Regions from separate parts of the Homo sapiens genome. Here regions 1, 3, 4, 5, 6 and 7 are each linked to region 2. Evidence: promoter capture Hi-C in 16 types of primary human blood cells and fetal thymus (Javierre and others, 2016). All regions are on one chromosome and are shown on one strand. The core of a region is centred on a gene start or on the middle of the fragment in contact, and the rest is flanking DNA. Distances in the headings are between cores, read along the strand shown. Region 1 overlaps LOC107985375 (a long non-coding RNA gene). Region 2 holds the start of ZNF669 (zinc finger protein 669). Region 3 overlaps OR2C3 (olfactory receptor family 2 subfamily C member 3). Region 4 holds the start of OR2B11 (olfactory receptor family 2 subfamily B member 11). Region 5 has its middle 34 kb from the start of OR2B11. Region 6 holds the start of NLRP3 (NLR family pyrin domain containing 3). Region 7 has its middle 40 kb from the start of LINC01341.

Region 1 (3,500 bases), core at 600-3,099, 290 kb after region 2:
TCTCTTTGGTTATAAATACCCCCTCTTCCTTGTTGTATTTGGAGTCCGACCCAACCTCTCTCCCACCGCTAGATCCCACTGCCATGTTACCTACACTTATCACAAGGGTCCAGAACAAAGTCAGCCCTCCCATCCTTTAATAAGTACCATTGAATAATTTTTCCTTAACAAGGGTAGGGATATTCTTGCTAAAGTGATCTAACAGGATTCTTGCTGAAGACAGGCCAGGGTGATCAGATATCACCTGGGGGATTGTGAGGGATGAGCAACCCAATCAGATATGAGAATAGTCAGATATCAATGTGGGGAATGACTTAGCAGGATTCTTGCTAAAACTGGGCTAGGCAGGTTGATGAGAGGATGGGGGCCAAGGACAAGGCCTGGTTGAGGAGAAGATTCCGAGGAGTCTGACTGAAGTTTGGTAGAGGAGGGAATCTTTGTCACAGTTCACTGTAACATTAAAGTCTGGACTTTTTTTTCCTTTTTAACATTCTATCACACTTGGAAATGTCTTGCAACAATATTGTACTTTGAACAAAATAGTTACAGGACTATGAAAAAGAATCTTAGACATGCTACACTGTAGGCAGCATGGCCTGGACATGGACCTGTGCTTACAGCTGTATGGTAGAAAGAACCTGTGTGAAGGTGAGTTTAAGTATCGGAGTGTGAGAGGCCTTCTGAGGACACAAAGCTTCTCTGTGCCTCACCCACAATGGTGTCTTGGTGAATGCCTTTAGACTGAGTGAGCATTCATCTAGTCTGAGACTTCTTATCTACTGCATTTTTTTTTTTTTTTTGGAGAAACAGAGGTCCCACTATATTGCCCAGGCTGGTCTTGAACTCTTGGCTTCAAGTTATCCTCCTGCCTCAGCCTCTCAAAGTGCTGGGATTACAGTCATGAGTCACCACGGCCTGGTCTGTCTACTGCATCTTAAAGGAGCAGATGCTTGCTTTTTTTTTTTGAGACAGGGTCTCACACTGTTACCCAGGCTGGAGTGCAGTGGCACAATCATGGCTCACTGTAACCTTGAACTCCTGGGCTCAAGAGATCCTTCTGCCTCAGCCTCCTGTGTAGCTTGGGACTACAAGTCCATGCCACCATGCCCAGCTAATTTGTTTTTTAAATATATATATATTTTTTGTAGAGACAGACTGTTGTTATGTTGCCCAGACTGGTCTCAAACTCCTGGCCTCAAGTGATCTTCCTGCCTCAGCCTCTCGGGGTGTTGGGATTACAGGTATGAGCCACCATGCCTGGCCTACATGTCTACTTTTGATCCTGGGAATAGGCAAGCATCCTCCCTTCCCTCCTCTTTTATGATTGTTCCCTGTACATCCACCTCCAGCTCCAGGACTCTACCTCTCATCAAGGCTGACCAGAAGCAAGATGATGGAAGCCAAGAGAGCTCCTCTGCATGCTCCACTGTCTAAGCTCTGCTCTGCATCTGCCGTGATTCTTCTTCCAAACAGAAAACACCGTCTTTCTTTTTGACTACATCTGTCCTCAGAGATGGTGCTGATGGATCCATTTATAATTTATGTGAATTTAAACCTTTGCAATTTTTACATGGAATAAAAGGACCTATTTTCTGGAAAGAAAATGCTGAACAAGAGCTGAGAACCTGGGGCAATCTAAGGCAGGGGTTCCTCCCTAACACCCCTGCTGTCAGAAGCCAGCTGGTTGGCCATAGATCACTTCACCTAACACCCAGTGCCCAGTCACATTTGCCCCCAAATTGTACAACTCAAGCTTAACTTTCACATATTTTAAGATAGTGTCAGCCCCTTTTGCAATATGTAGATGATACTTTTTGTTTGTCATTTACCATTTCAAAAAAATTAAAGCATATTGAATATCTAACTTAAAGCATATTGAATATCTAGCTTGCTTTCCTCTCAGGTTACTAATAAGAATTGCATTTTTTAATGCTTAATCACATATTAAGCTTTCCATTTGGGAGTTTTGCTCTTTTGTTCTTTAAATGGTGTCTCAGTCCATTTGGGCTGCTATAACAAGGTCCACAGACTGGGTAGCTTATCAACAACAGAAATTTATTTGTCACAGTTCTGGAGGCTGGAAAACCAAGATCAGAGCTCCAGCATGGTCAGGCTCTGGTGAGGGCTGTCTTCCAAGTTGCAGACTGCCAACTTTTTGTTGTATCCTCACATGGCAGAAAGAGGCAAGAGAGCTCTCTGGCCTCTTCCTATAAGGACACTAATACCATTCAAGAGGGCTCCATTCTTGTGAGCTAATTACTTCCCAAAGTTCTCACCTCCTAATACCATCACACTGGGGATTTCAACACATGAATTTTAGTGGGGCACAGTCAGTCCACTATAAATGAATATTACCAATATTTCCATTTGCCTTCTTGCATGGCCTGCAGGAGGTCAGTGTTTTTTCTCCTCTAATGATATTGAGCTGCGGTTGGGCCCATAATGGTGAAAAGACCCGATGAAGGCCATCTCGTCCATTCAGGCTACTCTAATAAAATACCATGAACTGGGGGTGCTGATAAACAATAGAAATGGATTTCCCACAGTTGTGGAGGCTGGAAGTTCAAGATCAAGGCACAAATAGACTCAGTGCCTGGTGGGAACCCATTTCTTAATTCACAGATGGTGTTTTCTTGCTGTGTTTCTATACCCTAATGGAAGGGGCAAGGCAGCTCTTGGAGGTCTCTTTTATAGGCACTAACGCCATTTATGAAGGCTGCACACTTATGACCCAATCACCTTCCAAAGTTCCCACCTCCAAATATCATCACCTTGGTGACTAGATTTTAACATGAATTTAGAGGGGACACAAATATTTAGACCACAGCAGGTCTGTTAGCTTCACAATAGTCATGGTTCTGGCTTTCAATTCACACATATTATGGGGTCATAAAATATGTATCACCACATAAATAAATTCCCTAATCTTAAATCACTATCATATGTAATATTGTATGATGTGTTATTTGAAATAATGAAGCAAAAAGAAGACACAATAACTTAAATGCGAAAATACAGAAATTTAGAAAAAAGAAAAGTCTAATCTATTGTTTTACTACACAACTAGAATTGTCCCCACTTCGGGGAATTTGCTTCTAGCTTTTCAAAAGCTTATATGTCAGCCAGGTGCTGTGGCTCATGCCTGTAATTCCAGCACTTTGGCAGGCCGAGGCCTGAAGGTTGTTGAGCCCAGGAGTTCAAGACCAGCCTGGGCAACGTGTGGAGACCTCATCTCCATTTTATTTTATTTTATTTTATTTTATTTTATTTTATTTTATTTTATTTTATTTTATTTCATTTTATTTCATTTTATTTATTTATTTATTTTTTTGAGATGGAAACTTGCTCTGTCGCCAGGCTGGAGTGCAGTGGCGTGATCTCAGCTCACTGCAACCTCTGCCTCCTGGGTTCAAGCCATTCTCCTGCCTCGGCCTCCTGAGTAGCTGGGACTACGGGCGTGTGCTACCACGCCCAGCTAATTTTTGTATTTTTCAGTAGAG
Region 2 (3,531 bases), core at 987-3,486:
CATTCCACACATGTGGATAGAAGGATGGGTGAGACTGACAGCACTGGGAATCTATACTCAATTCATAAGCTGTTTACATGATTTGATAATTTCCAAGCATTTATTCTATGACTTGATTGTCACAACTCTTACTCTGTTCACACATACTCCCTCCCACACAGCAGTACTAATGCTAGAATTGAACTATTCAAAAAGGCAACAGCAAAGTGGAAATACCCATCTCATTAGAGAATCCAGGGAGTAAGATGTGCTGCTAGGTTACCTCTTAATTTCACTTCGTACATTTCTAGTATCTGCCATAATAAAGTCCTACCTGATGTGCATAAGTGAGTTAATAATATCAGTCCTAAGACTACTTATTCTTAAAAATGCCTGCTCACAAAGTTCAATCTTTGTTTGTATTAGTAACTTACATTTTGAAAGGGATTCCACCAACCTAAGTAATAAGAATGACTCACTGCATCTAAATGGTTTATGCAATATAGTTGCCAAAACTTTTTCTGCTAAAGGTCTATTATTTTGTGTCACTGCAGTGGTGCTTAGGGAACCAGACACCAAAACACAGTCTGAACACTAAGTGTTTAATGAGTTTCCCTGGTAGACAATATTTTATATGTGCTGTCACTTGTTAATTGGGGAGTTGAGCCCATTCCATGTGATTACACCAAGAGAGAATAGGCTTATTAAATTTAATTGAGTAGTAAATAAAACCAATAATTGATATTTAACAATTTACTAATACAATTTTTAAATTTCTATTGCACAATGTCAAGGCAGAATGGAATAAGAGGAAATATGGCACATGTTTTTTAAAATGACATTAATGTCACCACTTCCAGATGCTATTCCTGTGAAATCACATAAATTCCCAAATCAGGCTTTTTTAGGCAAGAAAAACTAGTTTTTCATACCTAGTAAAAATGACAAATGTCTAATGATTTTCAGTCATCTAAAAAAAGAGTTATGTCTTGCCTAACATACTTTTAAGATTTTCAACCAAAAATATTCAGGACAGCACAGTATTAGCAGAGAGATGAGCAAGCAGACCAAGGGCTGAGGACACAACACCCTGTAAAGTTTTCACAGGGGGACATCAACCTAAAGACATTTTGGTAATATGCACACTTAGGAAAGATGAAGAGAGGCACAAAGATTTTTTTACAGTAGAGTGTCAGATGGTTTATTCTCCGCTTTCCTCTCATGTAAAATGTTTGTAAACAGAAAAATATTTTGGCCGAGCGCGGTGGCTCACGCCTGTAATCTCAGCGCTTTAGGAGGCCGAGACGGGCGGATCACTTAAGGTCAGGAGTTCGAGACCAACCTAGCCAACATGGCGAAACCCTGTCTCTACCAAAAATACAAAAATTAGCTGGGCGTGGTGGCGGGCGCCTGTAATCCCAACTACTCGGGAGGCTGAGGCAGGAGAATCGCTTGAACCCGGGAGTCAGAGGTTGCAATGAGTGAGACTGCATCATTGCACTCCAGCCTGGCGACAGGGCGAGATTCCGTCTCCAAAAAAAAAAAAAAAAAAAAAAAAAAAGAATATGGTTTGCTTCCTCATTAACCTTATCAAAGCCTCTCATTTACGCCCCTTCTGTGGACCCCAAACCACAAACCATGACTGCGGTACCTGGTTTATGAATCGCCGTTTGCTCAAACACACGGTTTAACGTTTTAACAAAGCCTCGGCTTAATTTTAGGGGAAGAAAGGTGGGACTGGAAGCCCCATGAACCACAGCTCCTCCCATGCTGGAACCCCGCACACCGAGACACCGAGTCGGGGCTCTCCCGCATCACCCTCCCGTGGTCACCACACTACCTGGATAGGGGAGGCGAGGGGTTCCCGACAGGGCTCCGGCCGGCGGAAGTGGCGCCCGCAGGTACAGACAGGATGCAGGGGTTCCGCTGCCCGCCCCGCCCGGCCCGGCCCTGAACAGAAGAGGACTGAGCCCCGGCTACGCCACGGCGACTCGGTCCGCAGGTTCCGGAGCCGATGGCGTGGAGGCCCGAGTCGCGCCACAGCAGGTTTCAACCAGCCCTCTTCTCCACTTCGGGAAGCCAGGCGCAGTCCACTCACCATTCCTCGGCTTCCCGGGTGTCCTGGCGTCAGCTAGGGATGTCCCAATACTCGCAGGTCACAGGGTGGCAGAGGCTGCTGCAGAGCCACCTGGGCCTCCCAGAGCCAAGAACTAGCAGCGGAGACTAACAGGAAGAGCCGGCTCCGGCGAAGGAGAGACAAAGCAACCGCCAGGCAGATCCCGGAAGCCGCCCTCTCCTTTCCGGCGGCGCGCCTGATTGAACGGTCCCCACCCCAGCGCCCCTGATTGGATGGGGCTTCAGGCCCCGCCCCTCAGGCCCTGAGTGACAGGAGATTGCGATCTCACGTGAGGCTGGATGAGGTCAGAATGACCGCTTTTGGCCTAGCGGTTTGTAGGCGGTGCGTCCTTCCTGCGCTGGGATCCGACCATGCAAGAAGGACATTCACATTTAACCTGTATACAAGTTATAGCTATTTGTGCCTTTTATATATATATATATATATAAAATTGGAAGCAATATAATGACAGTTCTGTAACTGCCCAGGGAGTTCACCTTGCCCGCTACCTAGACAGAGCCGATTTCTCAAGACAGGGGAATAGCAATAGAGAAAGAGTAATTCACGCAGTGTCCTCTGTGCGGGAGACCGGAGTTTTTTTATTTTATTTTATTTTTTTGAAACAGAATCTTGCTCTGTCTCCCAGGCTGGAGTGCAGGCTTGGAGTTTTATGATTATTCAAATCAGTCTCCCTGAGCATTTGGGGTAAGAGTATTTAGAACGTTTATTTTGCCAAGGTTGGGGATGCATATGCATGACACAGCCTCAGGATGTCCTTGATGACATGTGCCCAAGGTGGTCAGAGCACAGCTTGGTTTTGTTGGAGAGAAATGCTCGGTGCCGCAAAGTGAAACCAGCACTCAAGCGAAAGTTTTCTCAGCAACGCAATTTACTTCTGCAGAAGCGTGCTGCTCGCATCAATCACGATCGCAAGAGCACACTGAACAGAGGAAAGCAGGGGTTTTTATTCCTAACGCAGTCCCTACCTCTGGCATGGGCTGGGGTCAGACCGCACGATCTAAACTGACCCGGTTGGCTATTTGTGAATATTTTCCCAAATAAGGAAGGGGGAAGGGGGATGTGAGTTACAATGGTGGGACTTGCGGTTTCCAAGGGAGAAATGGGTGCAGAGCAGGTAACCAAGGGAACAGATGTGAGTTATTGATTAGAACTGACGGAAGGTTGTTTACAGTAACTAAGGGCAAGGAGGCATGGAGAACAAGAAAGTTGAGTTCGAAAACAAAAAAACAAGAAAGTTAACATGCCAAACCTTGGAAGAGAAACTGACTGTATCTGACAGCTTTATACATTTTAGGGAAACAGGAGACATCAATCAACATATGTAAGATGAACACTGGTTTGATCCGGGACAACCTGAAGCAAAAGCGGGTCAACTCGAAGCCAGGAGGGGGCTTCCAGGTCACAGGTAGGTGAGA
Region 3 (3,318 bases), core at 175-2,674, 420 kb after region 2:
GTTGGCTGGGCTGGACTCCAGCTCCTAACCGCGAGTGATCTGCCAGCCTCGGCCTCCTGAGGTGCTGGGATTGCAGACGGAGTCTCGTTCACTCAGTGCTCAATGTTGCCCAGGCTGGAGCGCAGTGGCATGATCTCAGCTCGCTACAACCTCCACCTCCCAGCCGCCTGCCTTGGCCTCCCAAAGTGCCGAGATTGCAGCCTCTGCCTGGCCACCACCCCGTCTGGGAAGTGAGGAGCATCTCTGCCTGGCTGCCCATCGTCTGGGATGTGAGGAGCCCCTCTGCCCGGCTGCCCAGTCTGGGAAGTGAGGAGCGCCTCTTCCTGGCCGCCATCCCGTCTAGGAAGTGAGGAGCGTCTCTGCCCGGCTGCCCATCGTCTGAGATGTGGGGAGCGCCTCTGCCCCGCTGCCCCGTCTGGGATGTGAGGAGCGCCTCTGCCCGGCCGCAACCCCGTCTGGAAGGTGAGCAGCGTCTCTGCCCGACCGCCCCATCTGAGAAGTGAGGAGCCCCTCCGCCTGGCAGCCGCCCCGTCTGAGAAGTGAGGAGCCCCTCCGCCTGGCAGCCGCCCCATCTGGAAAGTGAGGAGCGTCTCCGCCCGGCAGCCGCCCTGTCTGGGAGGTGGGGGGCAGCCCCCGCCCAGCCAGCCGCCCTGTCCGGGAGGGAGGTGGGGGGCAGCCCCCACCCGGCTAGCCGCCCTGTCCGGGAGGGAGGTGGGGGGCGCCTCCACCTGGCCGCCGCCCCGTCTGGGAGGTGGGGGACGCCTCTGCCCGGCCGCCCCTTCTGGGAGGTGAGGAGCCCCTCTGCCCGGCCGCCACCCCGTCTGGGAGGTGTACCCCACAGCTCATTGAGAATGGGCCATGATGACGATGGCGGTTTTGTTGAATAGAAAAGGGGGAAATGTGGGGAAAAGATAGAGAAATCAGACTGTGGCTGTGTCTGTGTAGAAGGAGGTAGACATAGGAGACTCCATTTTGTTCTGTACTAAGAAAAATTATTCTGCCTTGGGATGCTGTTATCTATGACCTTAACCCCAACCCCATGCTCTCTGAAACATGTGCTGTGTCCACTCAGGGTTAAATGGATTAAGGGCGGTGCAAGATGTGCTTTGTTAAACAGATGCTTGAAGGCAGCATGCTCATTAAGAGTCATCACCACTCCCTAATCTCAAGTACCCAGGGACACAAACACTGCGGAAGGCCGCAGGGCCCTCTGCCTAGGAAAACCAGAGACCCTTGTTCACTTGTTTATCTGCTGACCTTCCCTCCACTATTGTCCTATGACCCTGCCAAATCCCCCTCTGTGAGAAACACCCAAGAATGATCAATAAATACTAAAAAAAAAAAAAAAAAAACCATAACGTATAACTTTTAATGAGAAATTTTTCTGAGTGCTCTAACAAATACTGCTTCACATTGCTAACACTCAGTCTAGTTTTAGAAAATATATATGAAATCCTCTATTGTATCAAAAATGTTTATCATTTTTAGTAAATAAATGAACCTCCATCTACTGTTTGTCAGTAGCTCTTGCTCTGCAGTTTGGGGTTGGCAACCTCCTACAGAACAGATGCCCCTTCAACCTATATACACTTTATCTCCTTTGAACCACTGTAGTTTTGGTCTCTGTTACAGCAGCGTAATAATCAAGTAATAATCAAGACCTATATGAAGAAAACTGGAAATCTTTCCTGAAGGAATAAAAGATCTACATGCATATATAGACAGGAATAATTCCTAACATTCATTGAGGTTTTACTGTGCTAGTCATTATATTGAGTACCAATTTCTCATTACTTAAGTCTCTGCAGAAACCTTTCAAGACTGGTGTTTTTGCCACCCTTTACAGATAAAGACAACAGGGTTCAGAGAGGTGGGTTTATTGACCAAGGATTCATAGTCAAGTGAGGCATCAGGACCCATAGCAAGTACTTAATGACATGATCCCACCCCCGTGCTTCAGTTCCTTTGTTCATTATCCACATGGAAGTCTTGGTCCTGCAAACATGGTAAATTTTCCAGACATTAATTTAAAAATGTAGTTCAATACTAACCACAGTCAATAAGATACTGTTTTGGGTTAGGAGGAAACTAGCTGTGACTTTAACTTGGTAGAGCAGAACATAGTGACAACCATGAAAAGTCTAAATTAGAAAAATAGATAATGATTGATGCCTTGTTCTACTAGATGACAAAATATACTATACATCAACAGCTATTAAAAGTGTTACAAATGTGAATGAAATAAAATAAATGAATAAATATTAATAGAATTGATATTCCTGAAATAAATTTGCACATATATGAAATTTTGAATATGGTAAAGGTATAATTTGAAGCAAATAATGAAAATACAGCTAGCGAAATAAATTGTTTTGGGACAATTGACTGAACATTTGGAAAACAACATCTGTCTTACACACACACACACACACACACACACACACACTCTGCAGATGCAGTGAATTGAAAACCTAAACATAAAATAGAAAACCATAAAACGAGAAGATAAATACAATCTGGAAGATCGCAGGCCATTTCTAAGCATAACTCCAAGCATGAAGGCTTATCATGCCCTTTACTTCTTCCAAATAGTCTGAAAATATGAAATTCCATACATCTAGGGTCTCTAAGACATTTATTACCTGGGCCTGAGGGATCTCTCAGACCTCACTTCCCACCACTCTTTCCCTTACTCTCTTTCAGCCACACCAGCCTTTCTACACATGTAGCCCTTCCTCTTCCAAAGCCTTGATACTGGCTACTCCCTCCCCTTGGGATGCCCTCCATACCCATGCTGTGTGACTTCCTCCTTTGTTTCAGGGGAGAGCGCAAGTGGCAGTCCCTAGACCTCATGTCACCTTCTCCAGGCTCACCCTGCATGGCAGTTGATCGTATCTCTTAACCGACATTCTCATTTGCTTGCTTTGTTGGTGAATATTCTCTCTTCCCGAACTTTTGCATCCTATGAAAGCAGGGATATCAGTTATTTATTCCTGCATCTTCAGCCTCCAATACAGGCTGCATACATAAACCATGTTTAAATAATAATTCATTTCTTTGAATGAAATAATGAACAGTCCCACAACTAGAAGGCATAAAGGCATGATTGATAGTTTATTTAATACATATAACATTTAAAACTTTTGTACCACAAAGGAAACAAACAAAACATAGCAAAAGGATAAAACGTCCCACTAGAAAAACGATTCAACACTTATATGATGACAAAGATGTGTAGAATCATGTCAACTACCGCTACAAATCAGTAAGCAAAAAGGTAAAACAATGAAAATTTAAGAAAAAAACAATTTATTGAAG
Region 4 (3,434 bases), core at 732-3,231, 350 kb after region 2:
ATTCACAGCATGAGGAATGCAATTAATTCACAAAAATGATTATTGATTTTGTTAGCAAATCTAAAAGCCTCATCCCTCAAATAGCTTCTTATTCTGGAGGTAGGTAGAGTCCTCAGCCTCGTCAGTTATTCCTTCTAGTGCTGGGGACGAAGGGAAGAGGAGGAGAAGGAGCTGGGACCCAGCAGTGATGGGCCTATGGGAGGGAGGATACGGCTGCACAGCCCTCAGCGCGTGGCTCAGGCAGGGTCAGCCCCTCTGCACATGCCTCCCCCTACCACCACCACACGTCATCGCCTTTTTATGTGGTCTGACTTTTTCAGATTTTTCAACCTGAAGCTTGCTTTCTCGGGGACTGATACGATTCAGCTCTGCATTCTCTTTTTCTCTCTTTCCATGGCCCTGCTCAGCTCACTACTGCCCTTGTGACTGTGATTCAGCAGCCTCAAAAATAGGAGGAAGCGGAGGAAAGGGACTCAGCGTCCCCACACACTGTGTGCAGCGTCCACTGTTCAGATGAGTGTCAGACAGCGTGCCTACCTCCAGGCAGAGCATCCTGTTCTGCTCCCGGCTCTCTTTTCTAGATAAAACCACACAACACAATTTTACACTTGCTGCTTAATACGTGGCCATTGCTCATCGACCCATCCATCCTCCACCTCATGTGCCCTTGGTCTCCAGCATAGCCCAGTGTTAATACTGCCCATCCTGCACCTCCACTGCACTGTACAGATTTCAGTTTGACTGGAGTTGAGGATGAATCACTCACCTCCAGGGTTCCTGGCTCCTACAGAAGACTTGCTTTAGGACTGAAGGCTATATTGCAGTCTGTGTTGGCCTTAGTCGCGGAGGGACATTTAAGGATGGACTTACTAGAAATGCTCTTCATATTCCAGGAACACACAGCACATTTCCTCTGATGGGCTGCTGGGACCTTACCATTTACTGGAACCCAACCCTCTGAGCAAGTCTGAGAGATTATTCTCAGTCTAGAAGGAGTCTGCTGTCCGTTGCAACAGGCTTGCTGGGGAGACTCAGGGTTTCCCGGACTCTCCCTTGGCAGTACGTGAGGTCGGTGGAACTGCCTTAACCTTAGTCCCCCAGAGTGCCTATAGGTACCTTGACATGGTGGAGGTTACTTCCGAGGATAAGGCTTTCAGGCAACACACCTTGCCCGTGTCACGCTCTCTGTTCATTTCAAAATTATCCCTCAGATTTAACTTGACCTCATTCTCTCCACTGTTTTCTATAAGGGCCCTGCTCATTCTCCCCAGACGTGAGAGTAAAAACTTGCTCTCCTCTGGCTGTGAAATTATCCCTGATGCTTTATTTAATTAGTGTCTAAGGGGTTAGCTGATAATTGAGGTGGTGTGAGAGCTTGGAGTTCTTGCAATTAATGGCAAATCCCAGAAGACCAGAGAAAATGGATCAATAATGGGGAATAAGAACTCTGTGTGTGTGTGTGTGTGTGTGTGTGTGTGTGTGTGTGTGTTGAACTCTTTAGGGCTGGTGCGTGGTGTGTGTGTGTGTGTTGAACTCTTTAAGGCTGGTGCGTGGTGTGTGTGTGTGTGTTGAACTCTTTAGGGCTGGTGCATGGTGTGTGTGTGTGTTGAACTCTTTAGGGCTGGTGCGTGGCGTGTGTGTGTGTGTGTTGAACTCTTTAGGGCTGGTGCGTGGTGTGTGTGTGTGTGTTGAACTCTTTAGGGCTGGTGTGTGTATGTGTGTGTGTGTTGAACTCTTTAGGGCTGGTGCATGGTGTGTGTATGTGTGTGTGTGTTGAACTCTTTAGGGCTGGTGCGTGGTGTGTGTGTGTGTGTGTTGAACTCTTTAGGGCTGGTGTGTGGTGTGTGTGTGTGTGTGTGTTGAACTCTTTAGGGCTGGTGCGTGGTGAGGTGATTACTGTAACATCAGAGTGGAGTAGTAACTAGAGTGTGTGATTCAGGTAAAGCATGAGACCTGAACTGGCTTCAACACCAGGCTCGGTCACTCATGCCATGTGTCTTTGAGCAGGTTACTTAACCTATCTGTGCCTCACTTGTGTTTTCTTAAAAATACAAGAAACATTAGTATTGTTTTGCACAGTCTGTTACAAGGGTGGAATGAATTGTTTCTTGTAAAGCACTCAGAACAATGAGTGGCACAGAGTGATACATGTTGAGGGCTTTTTGTTGTTGTTGTTGTTGATATATTGTCTCAGCACCCTATTATATTTTTCACATGGAGGGGATAAAAAAAATCTTTCTTAAGACAGGCCGCAAGAAGTAGTGCACATTTTATTTTATTTATTCTTTTATTTTCTTATCTGTATAAATTTAAGGGCTACTGGTGCAATTTTGTTACACGGATATATTGTGCAGTGGTGAAATCTGGGCATTTAGCGTAACTATCACCCGAATAACGTACATTTTACCCCACGTAATTTCTCCTCCCTCACCCCCTGACACCGTCCTACCCACCCTAGTCTCCAGGGTCTCTTACTCCATCCTCTGCATCCCTGTGGACACATAATTTAGCTCCCACTTGTAACTGAGAACATCTGGTATTTGACTTTCTGTTCCTCAGTTGTTTGGCTTAAGATAGTGTCCTCCAATTCCATCCACATTGCAGCAAAGATATGACTTCATTTTTTTTATGGCCAAATAGAATTCTTGTAGCGCAAATTTTAATTCATGAGCTACAATTCATGTGATTAAATGCTGCTATGGGAACCACTGTGAATAGCAGCACCTTGGTGCAGTTACTCTCCCTCTCTAGGTTTTGACTCGATCGTCTTTTTTCTCTAGCTTTAGATGTCTAAGTGGACACAGGGTGAGTCATGGCCATGAGTTAGGGCTCTATTTTTACCTTCTGGGGATGGAGGGAGGAGAGAATATGTCCCAGAAGAAGATGGGGCGACTGTGCTTTGGCGAAGAAGTGGGAGCTGTCCCTGATTCTAAGCATGCTCTCTTGTACTCTCTCCCACGGAGAGCCAGATGAGGCACCAGGGACATCTTAGACACTTTTTTTTTTTTTGAGACGGAGTTTCACTCTTGTCTCCCAGGCTGGAGTGCAGTGGTGCGATCTCGGCTCACTGCAACCTCTGCCTCCTGGGTTCAAGTGATTCTCCTGCCTCAGCCTCCCGAGTCTATGGGACTACAGGCACCCACCACCACACCTGGCTAATTTTTTGTGTTTTTAGTAGAGACGGGGTTTCATTATGTTGGCCAGGCTGGTCTCGAACTCCTGGCCTCAGGTGATCCGCCTGCCTCGGCCTCCCAAAGTGCTGGGATTACAGGTGTGAGCCACCGTGCCCGGCCTTAGACACTGTCTTGTTATCCAGCTGGGATAATTTCCAGAAGTGGAGAGGCTTCCATATCTCTGCAGTTGGGGGAAGAAAGGTGGAATAAACAGTTTTGTGCTGAGAAAACCCAGATGCAATTGTAGTTGGAAACTCCCAC
Region 5 (3,686 bases), core at 104-2,603, 390 kb after region 2:
CACAAGGAAAAGCCAAGTTAGAGAGAGATGAACTGAATAGCAGGCCATACATTTGCAGACCTGTGTTTTACAGAGGCAGAATTAAACCTATCATCACAGTCCTTTCTTGTAGGGTCAAAAATCACTGTGTTTCATCTTAATAAAATTACATGCCATTAAGGAGTTGCCTGGTACGTACATTCATGGCTTCCTTAAGCATCACCCATAAATGTGGTCCTTCATGACTTTGTATATACTACCTCCTCTTTGTGAAACATATTTAGCTCAATCTGCCACATGTCAAATTCTTACTTATTATTTGCAACAACCAAAAACAACTCTCAGACTCAGCAGTCTCCCTTAATACAAACTGTTCTACACAGGCCCTCCTGATCACTTGGGAGTGATCTGCATAATACTCAGCCTTTTAACGCATCTTCTTTTAGAGAACTTTCTCTTTCTCCCTTCTTTGTCATTATTCATACACATTATTCACCAAGGAGGGAAGCTCCAGAGTCAATTCATCCCGTCTTCCTGGGGCATCAGGCACACGACTTTGCATGTAACAGGTTTCAATAAGTCTATTCTAAAAAAGCAAAGAAAGGGCAAATGGCTCTCTTAACTTCACAGACCTGTAAATGGAAATTGGAGAGTGCCAGATCATCTGCATGTGCCCCCTTATCTAATTCTTTGGTTGTTTCTCTGTAATAGCTGGTGGATTATGGGAAAGGACAATGCCAGTTACCTACAGGCATTCATCCTGGTGGGCTCTTCTGATCGGCCTGGACTGGAGAAAATTCTCTTTGCTGTTATCTTGATCTTCTGCATCCTGACCCTGGTGGGCAACACTGCCATCATCCTCTTGCTGGTCATGGATGTCAGGCTCCACACACCCATGTACTTCTTTCTTGGGAATCTGTCTTTCTTAGATCTCTGCTTTACAGCAAGCATTGCCCCTCAGCTGCTGTGGAACCTGGGGGGTCCAGAGAAGACCATCACCTACCACGGCTGTGTGGCCCAACTCTACATCTACATGATGCTGGGCTCCACCGAGTGCGTCCTCCTGGTTGTCATGTCCCATGACCGCTATGTGGCCGTCTGCCGGTCCCTGCACTACATGGCAGTCATGCGCCCACATCTCTGCCTGCAGCTGGTGACTGTGGCCTGGTGCTGTGGCTTCCTAAACTCCTTCATCATGTGTCCTCAGACGATGCAGCTCTCCCGGTGTGGACGTCGCAGGGTGGACCACTTCCTGTGTGAGATGCCTGCTCTTATTGCCATGTCTTGTGAGGAAACCATGCTGGTAGAAGCGATTCACCTTTGCCCTGGGGGTGGCTCTCCTCCTGGTGCCGCTCTCCCTCATCCTCATCTCCTATGGCGTGATTGCAGCCGCGGTGCTGAGGATGAAGTCAGCAGCAGGGCGAAAGAAAGCCTTCCACACCTGCTCTTCTCACCTCACAGTGGTCTCTCTCTTCTACGGAACCATCATCTACGTGTACCTGAAGCCGGCCAACAGCTACTCCCAAGATCAGGGGAAGTTCCTGACTCTCTTCTACACCATCGTCATTCCCAGCATCAACCCCCTCATCTACACTTTGAGGAACAAGGATGTGAAGGGGACCATGAAGAAACTTCTGGGGTGGGAGAAAGGGGCTGGGGAGCCTCAACGAGGGGAACACTCTAGTAATGTAGACAGTTTGCTGGAGTTACTCTCTTAGATGTGTCTGTGGCCATGTGGAGAACTAATATTCAAGGAGTAGAGTGAACGCGGGTGGGAAAATGCTTTCGAGTTTGACCCCGTCCTCTGCCCTCTGGATGTGAAGTGGTTTCCTTCTGTTTGAAGTTGCCTGCTTCAGGATATCTCTGCTGTATCTTGCACTTTCCTTGTCTTTTTGATTTATCCACAACTGCTGGGGACTTACAAAACTAATTCAATCACCCAAAGGCACTGGGCAGTCTGCAGATTATGTCATGGATGTCAAATAAAAATTGAGACAACATGAGTGGCCTTTTCTTCAAGCCCTTTTATTTGCTTCTGTGGCAGTTTTTCAAAGAGAGAGGGGTCAACATCAGTAAAGTTATAGTGCCCTGTCCTGGATACAGGTTGGTTCTGTATGAGTGGGGAATGTCCTTTGAGTTGCTTTTTGAAAAAGCAGAATTTGCTCAGAGTTATTTGCATCTTCTCCTTGACCTTTTCGCATAGCCAAAGTACCTACAAAAGAGCTGACTCTAGTCAGGAATGCAAGCCTTTGGGAAGAACAGAGCAAATGATACACATCCAGATAGAATGAATTTGTTCTCCTTAGCAGATTAAACAGCTGTAAATATTCTACTTCAAAGAGAGCTGTCCTATACTCAAATTAATTACCACCCCCAACCTCCACAAATAACTCTGATGACCAATCTTATAAAATCAGTGCATATTGGAATTGGACATTACTAAAAGCAGTGTTTCCAAAACTTGATCGTGCATCAGAACGCTTAAGGCACAAATTTCCAAGAACTCTCCAAATTTCCTGAATCTACAATGCCAGGTGTGGGTCTAGGCATCTCTGTCTTTAAAAAGCTCCCTAGGTGTTACTGATGATAGATTTTGAAATCATTGTTTTAGAGATAATAAAAATCCAGCTCCTCACATTACCCAGGACTCTTCCTGTAGCATTCTGAATCCCTGGCTGCCTTCACTGGGTATGAATGATCCTGTGCACCAGGCATGGGGAAGACAGTATCATCCATATCTGGACTTGGAACTGATTTATCTTCTCACCAGTTAGCTTTCGAAGCCTAGCCTTTTTCATCTGTATTATGGAGGTCATACTCTTCACCTTAGAGGGTTGTAGTAGAGATTAAGCAAGACAAAGTATGTTAAATATGAGGTGGGTGGTCTCTCAGTAATACTTTTTTTTTCATGTACCACAGGCATTGGGCAATCTATTCTTTTGTAGGTCTTATGCAATTGTTATTTAGATCTTGTTTTTAGTAAAATTCTGCTTCAGTATTTTTCCATTTATTATCTGCAAGATGCAAAATGTTCTCTTCCAGGTGTAGAAAACACCCTTTCCTTGCTTCTTTCAGATTAGGTAGATAGGATCCCTCACAAACTCTCAGAGAACTTTGCTGCCTACTTTTGCACCCTAATAGAAATGTGGGTTGGGGGGTGAGGTGGTGATTCAGGGTAAGTGTGCGGATTTCACATTATTTGTAGATAATACCAGTTCAGGCTTTTTGAATTATGGGGCAGAGCGTGTCCATAGACTATCACAGAGGCTAAATCTATGAGATAACAAAAATACCCAGACAGAAATGGAAAAAAATTTCAAAGTTGTTTAACCAGGTGTTTTGGAACTATTGCATAAAATATTTCAAAACCCATTGCTCCAGTCGTCTTCCTGTATAATAAAGATGATCATAGGACATGTGAAAAATAGATATTCTTTACCCTATTTGCAAATAATGTGACTAAAACACAGGGAGGCTAAGGGAGTTGCTTAAATTACAAGGCAAGTGAATACCTAAGATGGCATTCATTATTTGTCAAACATTTCCCAGGGAGTTTTTCATTCCATTAACTGCTTACACATTTAGGTCCTATGTGGTTAAATTTGGACTTTAGGACTGTTTAGTATCCAAATGCTATTTTTTATTGATAAAAAATTTAAGTTTTTCTTTTAAAATCTTTTCTTTTAAAGTTTTTCTTTTAAAATCAT
Region 6 (3,515 bases), core at 508-3,007, 310 kb after region 2:
TTGTCCTTTCTCCATTGTGTCTTCTTGGTGACCTTGTCAAAGAATTAGTTGACTGCATATACTTGAGTTTATTTCTGTTCCACTGGTCTATGGGTCTGTTTTTATAAAGGCATGGATTTTTACTGCATATGAATTATACCTAAATTTGTCTTTTTTTTTTCCTTTTTCTGGAGAATGGGGTCTCACTATATTGCCCAGGCAGGTCTCGAACTCCTGGGCTCAAGCTATCCTCCCGCCTCTTGCCTCCCTGAGAGCTGGGATTACAGGCGTGAGCCACTGCGCCCGGCTGAATTATACCTAAATTAACTTGACTAAACAAACAAAAACAAAAAGATCCCAGGTTCAGCCAATGAGCTCCTTTTTTTTTTTTTGAAATGGAGTCTTGCTCTTGTCACCCAGGCTGGAGTGCAGTGGCACAATCTCAGCTCACTGCAGCCTCCACCTCCCAGGTTCAAGTGATTCTCTTGCCTCAGCTTCCTGAGTAGCTGGGATTACAGGTGCCCGCCACCACACCCAGCTATTTTTTTTTATATTTTTAGTAGAGATGGGGTTTCGTCATGTTGGCCAGGCTGGTCTCAAACTCCTGACCTTGTGATCTGCCTGCCTTGGCCTCTCAAAGTGCTGGGATTACAGGCATGAGCCACTGCACCCAGGCTGAGCTCCTTTCTTTTGGAGCATATTTGGTCTGCTTTCTCTCTAGCTTCAGCACCTGAAGTTTTTGCTGCTCCTGCCTCAGCTCCAGCCCCGAATGACACCTTTCACCTGGTTCATGGAGACTCAGGTCTGCTGTCATGCCCCTAAGCAGGACTAGATGCCTCTCTCATGTTGTAGAGCATTCTCTCTGCAGTTCTGTAGAAAGGTGGTAGTCATCGGAACCAACTGCTTATTCTAGCTTCTCTGTGCCAGGCTCTGTTTTAAAGGCCTCACGTTTAGCCATTCACTCAGTGTTTTCTGACAGCCTTCTAGGATAGGTACCGTTATTTGGGTTGATGTAGTGCTTGGTCAAATGCAGTATAATGAAGGGATCAAGGAGGGGGCAATTCCAAGCAAAACCACTTGTTCATCCATCCTGAGTCTAGGAGATTTGGAAGATCTAAAGAAGTAGCAGGCAATTATTGTCACCCTTTTACAGGTATGAGGCACAGACAGACCCAGTCATTTGCTGACATCCCTCCACTGAACTGGGTGCTCGTCCTTTTCACTCACCCAGAGGCTGAGCGAGTGCCTCTCACCCACCAAGCTCTGTTGAACTTGTGCCTTTGCCGGTCTGTGGTCCTGCGGCCGTCTCATGAGCTGCAGAGTAGGTCTGTGTGTGTCTCTCCTCAAGCTACTCAAGCTGAGGCTTTGTGTGCATGCCTGCCACATACCAGCCATTCCGTGAGTGTTAGTGGAACAGGTGAGTCAATGAGTCAGGGAGTAAAATTTGTGCTTTAAAAGTAGAACATGTCGGAGAGAACCTGTACTGCCTTCCAGCCATCTTGCTGTGAGAGGACAGGGCATGGACTCTGGAGTTTGAAGGCTGGGTCAGGTCATGCTCTGGATTCTTTACTCACTCGCATGGCATGTCCTTAGTTTCACTTCCCTCACTCTCAGTGGAGCCGTTGCAGCGGGCAGTGTCAGAGGCAACATCCATTTAGCACTGCCGATTTGACCCCCAGCCCCATCTCATACTGGCCTCCCACCCTGCTTCTGTGGGGTGCCTCAGAGGAGAGCAAGGTGAACCCCAGTATGGAACCGAGACACGGTTTTGACAACACTGTTGATCCCATTTGGAAAATCCAGCTATGTGATTAACCATTAGTCTCTCTGCCTCTGCTCTGATGTAAGTGGAGACCACATCCTTCCTGCCCCTTCTGGGGCTGCGACTGCTATAAATTCATTGCATTTCCTCTCTAGCTGTTCCTGAGGCTGGCATCTGGGTAAGTCCAGCTCCGCGGGGCAGTGTGGGCGACAGGACCGGGAGAGCAGTGGGGGAGATTGTGTTCAGAGGGCAGAACTTGTCCTGGTTAATGCACTAGGAATTTCTTCTGGCGTCTCCAAGGTTGTGCTTCAACAACATTTCTGGAATGTTCTTTTATCATTATTTGGGCTCTACGTGTGCAAGTTCGTGTGTGTGTATGTGGCGGGGGGAAGCGGGGAGGACAGCGGCAGCAACCATAGTTTACACCCACGACTTCAGCAGATTTGCCCAGTATCCCTCCCAGGGGAGAAGATGGATGGGATATACAGAAGGAAACAAACCTCCTTAAAGACCAAAGGGCAGCAGATTTTTGTGCTGGTGTTAGGGTGGAAGGAGCACAGAAGAAAGGCAGAATCCTGATGCAGATGGAAGGACTGATGGGGCAGGAGCTGGGAGGGTATGCGGAGCTAATAGGGCTGTCTGGAGAGCAGTCACCTCAGGATGGGCAGGAGCTGGGAGGGTATGCGGAGCTAATAGGGCTGTCTGGAGAGCAGTCACCTCAGGATGCACAGGGCTGGGTTTGCAGGGCTCAGGAGGCGAGGAGTAGATAGGCAGGAATGGAGATGGGACGGGAGAGATGAGTGAGTCTGAGGCATCTTGACATTGAACTGCAGTCACAGAAATTCCAATTTGGAGAGCTCCACCGTTTTCCAGGCTCTCTGCCTCCCTTGAGTGTTATTTATGGCTTTAGGTTGAGGTGCTTTGCCAAATAGAGTATAATCAAGGGATCAAGGAGGGAACAATTCCAAACAAAGCCAACTTGTTCATCCATCCGGACTCTAGGAGATATGGAAGATCTAAAGATACAGCAGGTGATTGCTAGTTTTTGTGGAACTCACAGTCTAGTTGGGAAGACTATGTTGGTGAATGCTGCAGTGATACACCTGTGATAAATGCTGGGGAAGTGTGTCTTTTAGTCATCTATTTTGTTGTCTTTGTCTTTGTCTGACTGAAACAAGTGATGGAAGACATGGTCTCATATCTCTGGTCAAAATCCTGGCTCTGTTCCTTCCTGGTTCTAAACCCCTCGGCAGGCTTCCTAGTCCCCCTAAGACTCAGTTTATGCATCTATAAAATGGGGCTAGGAATAGGTGCACCTCATAGAGCTCTGTGCAGGTTAGATGGGGAAAAACATCAGTGAGTGCCTAGCCTGTGGAAAGCTCTAAATTAATGTGAATTATAATGATAACAATTGCGAATTTTGCAAGGAGACATTAAAGGATGTATGTTTTTATTTATTTTATTTTATTCTATTTTATTTTTTGAGATGGAGTTTTGCTCTTATTGCCCAGGCTGGAGTGCAGTGGTGTGATCTTGGCTCATCGCAACCTCCGCCTCCTGGGTTCAAGCGATTCTCCTGCCTCAGCCTCCCGAGTAGCTGGGATTACAGGTGCCTGGTACCATGCCCGGTTAATTTTTGTATTTTTAGTAGAGACGGGATTTCTCCCTGTTGTTTGGTGAGCCTGGTCTCCAACTCCTGACCTCAGGTGATCCGCCCACCTCGGCCTCCCAAAGTGCTGGGATTACAGGGATGTATGTTTTTATTATTCTCCAT
Region 7 (3,635 bases), core at 492-2,991, 280 kb before region 2:
TTTTGTATTGATTGCTCTAGGGCATCAGTTCACACAGTGCATTCCAGGGTCTGTGAGATCTTTTCAGGGTGTTTGTAAAGTGACACTTCCTTTTGTGATCGTACTAATGTTTGCTTTTTTCATTCTCATCCTCTCATGAGCGTAGAGTGGAGTAACGTGTGCAGTGGGATTTGCCAGAGGCTATGTAACGTGATTTTATAGATGACATGCAGGGCAGAGAATCAAGCTCTTTCATGAAGTCAGACATTACAGAGATTTCAAAAAATGGAAAGCAGTGCCATTCTCTTCAGTGTCGGCTCGAGTACTATTTTTTGGCCTGACATGGTGTTTCACACTTAAGATCCCATCACTTTGGGAGGCAGAGGCAGAAGGATCATTTGAGCCTAGGAGTTCGAGACCAGGCTGGGCAACAGAGCAAGAGCTCATCTCTAAAGAAAAATAAAAATAGATCGGGCGTGATGGCTCACACCTGTAATCCCAGCTCTTTTGGGAGCTGAGGCGGGCGGATGACTTGAGGTCAGGAGTTCGAGACCAGCCTGGCCAACATGGTGAAATCCCATCTCTACTAAAATACAAAAATTAGCCAGGTGTGGTGGCACACACCTGTAATTCCAGCTACTTGGGAGGCTGAGGCAGGAGAATCGCTTGAACCTGGGAGGCAGAAGTTGCAGTGAGCCAAGACTGCGCCACTGCACTCCAGCCTGGGTGACAGAGTGAGACTCCATCTCAAAATAAATAAATCAATAAATAATAAAAAAAATTACTTTTCATAAAAATATTTTTATATTATGTATGTTTACTAGTAATGGATTTTTAATGTTTTTATTAACTGATGTTAATAAAACATCACCCTGTGTTTGTAATAAAACAAACCCTGTGCTCTAGGGTCACAATAGATTTCTTTAAAATATTTTATTTTCAAATATTATATTACTTCCTCTATAATGCAAAACCTTCAAACAATATACTTCTGGTAGCTGTCTCGTTTTTTTTGGTGTAGTCATATTTTATTTCTGTATTTGTTTTGAATCCCAACAGAATTTATTCTTGCTTTGACAATCAGTGATCTTTCTGAAAGATTCAAAATTAGAAAAAAATTTTCTTGGGCACAGTGTTCTAGGTTGAGAATTTCTTTTCTTTTCTTTTTTTTTTTTTTTGAGATGGAGTCTCATTCTGTCACCCAGGCTAGAGCGCAGTGGTGTGATCTCAGCTCACTGCAACCTCCATCTCCTGGGTTCAAGTGACTCTCCTGCCTCAGCCTCCCTAGTAGCTGGGATAACAGGCATGTGCCACCATGCCCAGCTAGTTTTGTTTTGTATTTTTAGGAGAGATGGGGTTTCACCATGTTGGCCAGGCTAGTCTTGAACTCCTGACTTCAAGCAATCTACCTGCCTCGGCCTTTCAAAGTGCTGGGATTACAGGCATGAACCACTGCTCCTGCCCAAGGTTGAGAATTGCTTTCAGCTCGTAAGTCTCTCCATTGTGTTCTAGCTCGCATAATTCTGACAATATATCTGCGGTCATTCTTGTTGTTCCTCCATCTTTTCTCACTTGTTTTAAGATTTTATCACTGGATTAGAGCAATTTAATTAAAATGAGACTTACTGTGATTTTCCTTATTCTACTTAGGACTTATTGCTCTTCTTAGACCTGTGGGTTTATAGTTTCCATCAAATTTGGGAAAATTTCAGCCATCATTCCTTCAAGTATTTTTTGCACACACGCCCCTCCCATTCTTTCTGTGACTCCAATTACATGTAGAGTAAGATTGTCCCACATGTCACTGAGGCTCTGTTCATTTCCTCCCCATAACTTTTTCTGACTGTTTCTCCTTGTCTGTCAAAATTCAGCCTAAACATCATACCCTTTATTAAACCATTCACCAGATATCCTGTCTAGATTGAATGACCACCTCACCTTTGTACCCCACTGTATCCCATACATCTTATCACAGAGCCTGTAACATCTGAGTGTACTTTTTTCCTGTCTCCCCAAACCAAATTGTGAGCAACTTTCAGGCAGAACAGTGCATGGCATATGATAAATGCTCATTAAAACAGAAGTTCTCAGATGCTAAGTGCCTCATACAGTTTGCTTATTTTGCTTATCTCAAGGAAGCAAAATATAATTGACTTGACTGTCATACCTTTTTCAGTGTGTCAATACATTGGCAAATGAACTGATTTGAGTATCTAAAAATTACTTAGGCCATAGCTGTGTTTTTGGACCTCACGTTCAGCATAGAAAAGGAGTAAATTTAAAGTGAAATTCTCATATGGAAACATAGATTTATGCTTGCATAAAATTATTATACTTTCACACTGTGAACACATCATCAAAAACAAAACAACAAAAAACTGGCATTGAAGCTGTGTTTTAAAGCAACTTACCTGGCCTGCAAATTTACGACTAGGATCAGCTGAAATAAGGACACCATCCTTATCCCTTTGAAATCCATTGTGAGACCAATATGCCAGGTCAAAAGTAAATGTCTTCACATGCTCTGGATTCTTAGGGTCCTGTGTAGTGGTGGTAGTTCTGGAATGCATGGAAATCACACATTTGCTCCCAGAATTCTTCTCTCTCTACAGTCAAATTACAAATTCGGAGTCAATCATTCCAGTTTCTCTTTGTTATCCAAGTTCATTGTTTTGCAAGTCTTTATACCTAGTAAGAAATTAAGCCAAGAACTTACCCTTCCCTCAGTTTGTTCTCTAATTGTGTTACTTTTAGCAGCTATTATGACAAGCAGTTGTTCCTGTACTCCCTCGGAATTTTTGAAAGGCTTGTCTCTAGTCACATTAACTTTCTGAGAAGAGCTGGCTCTCTAACACCCAGGTATACTAATAACAATAACTACAGTAGTGGAGATACTGACTTCCTGCATAACTGGTGAACTCCCCAGTAAAACTAGTGAAAAATTATCCATTAAAAAATGAAAATGAAGAAAAAAAAACACTTTTTAATGGTCCTAAGGACAAACAGCACATGAAGAAACATCTATTCATGGCCGGGCGCGGTGGCTCACACCTGTAGTCCCAGCACTTTGGGAGGCTAAGGCGGGCGGATGACTTGAGGTCAGGAGTTTGAGACCAGCCTGGCCAACATGGTGAAACCCCGTCTCTACTAAAAATACAAAAATTATGTGTGTGTGATGGCAGGTGCCTGTAATCCCAGCTACTCAGGAGGCTACGGCATAAGAATAGCTTGAACTTGGGAGGTGGAGGCTGTAGTGAGCTGAGATTGCACCACGGCACTCCAGCCTGGGCGACAGAGTGAGACTGTCTCAAAAAGAAAAAAAAAAGCATCTATTCAAGAAAATGTACTAAAATTTGGTAAGAAAAGAGTTTGTGGTATTTGAAGCAAGATCATTCCTTTCCTTTCCCTGCCAGCTCAGGAAGGTGGAGATTCCACTCTGGACAGCTAGAGCCAGTAACACAGGGTTCTGTCTCTGCTCCAGATCGCAGCTGGAGGACTTTCTTCCAGGAAGATCAAGATATTAGCATTTCTCATTCTGCCTCTCTCTACCTGTTAGTGAGGCCAAGTGTCAGGTTAATTGGGGGTCTCCCTTTCACACCCAGCTCTCACTCGAGGAATGGAGGCTCTATTTTGGTTGCAGCATGCTGAGCTTACTG

Evidence for each region. The method cuts DNA at HindIII sites, captures the fragments that hold promoters and counts their contacts. A CHiCAGO score of 5 or more calls a contact.
Region 1: a contact is called between a fragment that was not itself captured here and the fragment with the promoter of ZNF669 in region 2, in 3 of 17 cell types (naive B cells, total B cells and M2 macrophages). The highest score is 6.5, in naive B cells.
Region 3: a fragment that was not itself captured here is called in contact with the fragment with the promoter of ZNF669 in region 2 in 1 of 17 cell types (monocytes); the score reaches 5.0 in monocytes.
Region 4: a fragment that was not itself captured here is called in contact with the fragment with the promoter of ZNF669 in region 2 in 2 of 17 cell types (neutrophils and monocytes); the score reaches 5.8 in neutrophils.
Region 5: a fragment that was not itself captured here is called in contact with the fragment with the promoter of ZNF669 in region 2 in 4 of 17 cell types (M0 macrophages, M1 macrophages, monocytes and 1 more); the score reaches 9.1 in M0 macrophages.
Region 6: a fragment that was not itself captured here is called in contact with the fragment with the promoter of ZNF669 in region 2 in 1 of 17 cell types (neutrophils); the score reaches 6.1 in neutrophils.
Region 7: a fragment that was not itself captured here is called in contact with the fragment with the promoter of ZNF669 in region 2 in 1 of 17 cell types (fetal thymus); the score reaches 6.2 in fetal thymus.

The regions. Positions count from the first base shown.
Region 1 is chr1:247,391,993-247,395,492 of GRCh38, forward strand. It overlaps LOC107985375 (a long non-coding RNA gene), which reads left to right. Exons shown (of 2, transcript XR_001738574.1): 2 at 1,350-1,870. Among named protein-coding and RNA genes, the nearest start is that of NLRP3, 22 kb to the right of the region's middle. RefSeq lists a silencer at 849-1,131. The HindIII fragment of the contact is 196 bases long and covers 1,752-1,947 here.
Region 2 is chr1:247,102,120-247,105,650 of GRCh38, forward strand. ZNF669 (zinc finger protein 669) reads right to left here and starts at 2,237. Exons shown (of 4, transcript NM_001142572.2): 1 at 2,078-2,237. The coding sequence starts at 2,080. FLJ39095 (a long non-coding RNA gene) reads left to right here and starts at 2,392. Exons shown (of 3, transcript NR_147502.1): 1 at 2,392-3,521. RefSeq lists an enhancer at 2,188-2,482. The HindIII fragment of the contact is 5,762 bases long and covers 1-3,531 here.
Region 3 is chr1:247,521,584-247,524,901 of GRCh38, forward strand. It overlaps OR2C3 (olfactory receptor family 2 subfamily C member 3), which reads right to left. Exons shown (of 3, transcript NM_198074.6): 3 at 3,094-3,318. It overlaps GCSAML-AS1 (GCSAML antisense RNA 1), which reads right to left. Exons shown (of 4, transcript NR_027309.2): 4 at 3,096-3,318. It also overlaps a transcript of GCSAML not described here. Among named protein-coding and RNA genes, the nearest start is that of GCSAML-AS1, 7.6 kb to the right of the region's middle. The HindIII fragment of the contact is 6,477 bases long and covers 1-3,318 here.
Region 4 is chr1:247,456,873-247,460,306 of GRCh38, forward strand. OR2B11 (olfactory receptor family 2 subfamily B member 11) reads right to left here and starts at 1,232. Exons shown (of 2, transcript NM_001004492.2): 1 at 767-1,232. The HindIII fragment of the contact is 3,294 bases long and covers 335-3,434 here.
Region 5 is chr1:247,490,428-247,494,113 of GRCh38, forward strand. It overlaps the pseudogene OR2W5P. Among named protein-coding and RNA genes, the nearest start is that of OR2B11, 34 kb to the left of the region's middle. The HindIII fragment of the contact is 5,867 bases long and covers 1-3,686 here.
Region 6 is chr1:247,414,275-247,417,789 of GRCh38, forward strand. It overlaps NLRP3 (NLR family pyrin domain containing 3), which reads left to right and starts at 1,899. Exons shown (of 10, transcript NM_001243133.2): 1 at 1,899-1,919. The HindIII fragment of the contact is 3,668 bases long and covers 1-3,515 here.
Region 7 is chr1:246,827,511-246,831,145 of GRCh38, forward strand. No RefSeq gene overlaps it. Among named protein-coding and RNA genes, the nearest start is that of LINC01341, 40 kb to the left of the region's middle. The HindIII fragment of the contact is 7,632 bases long and covers 1-3,635 here.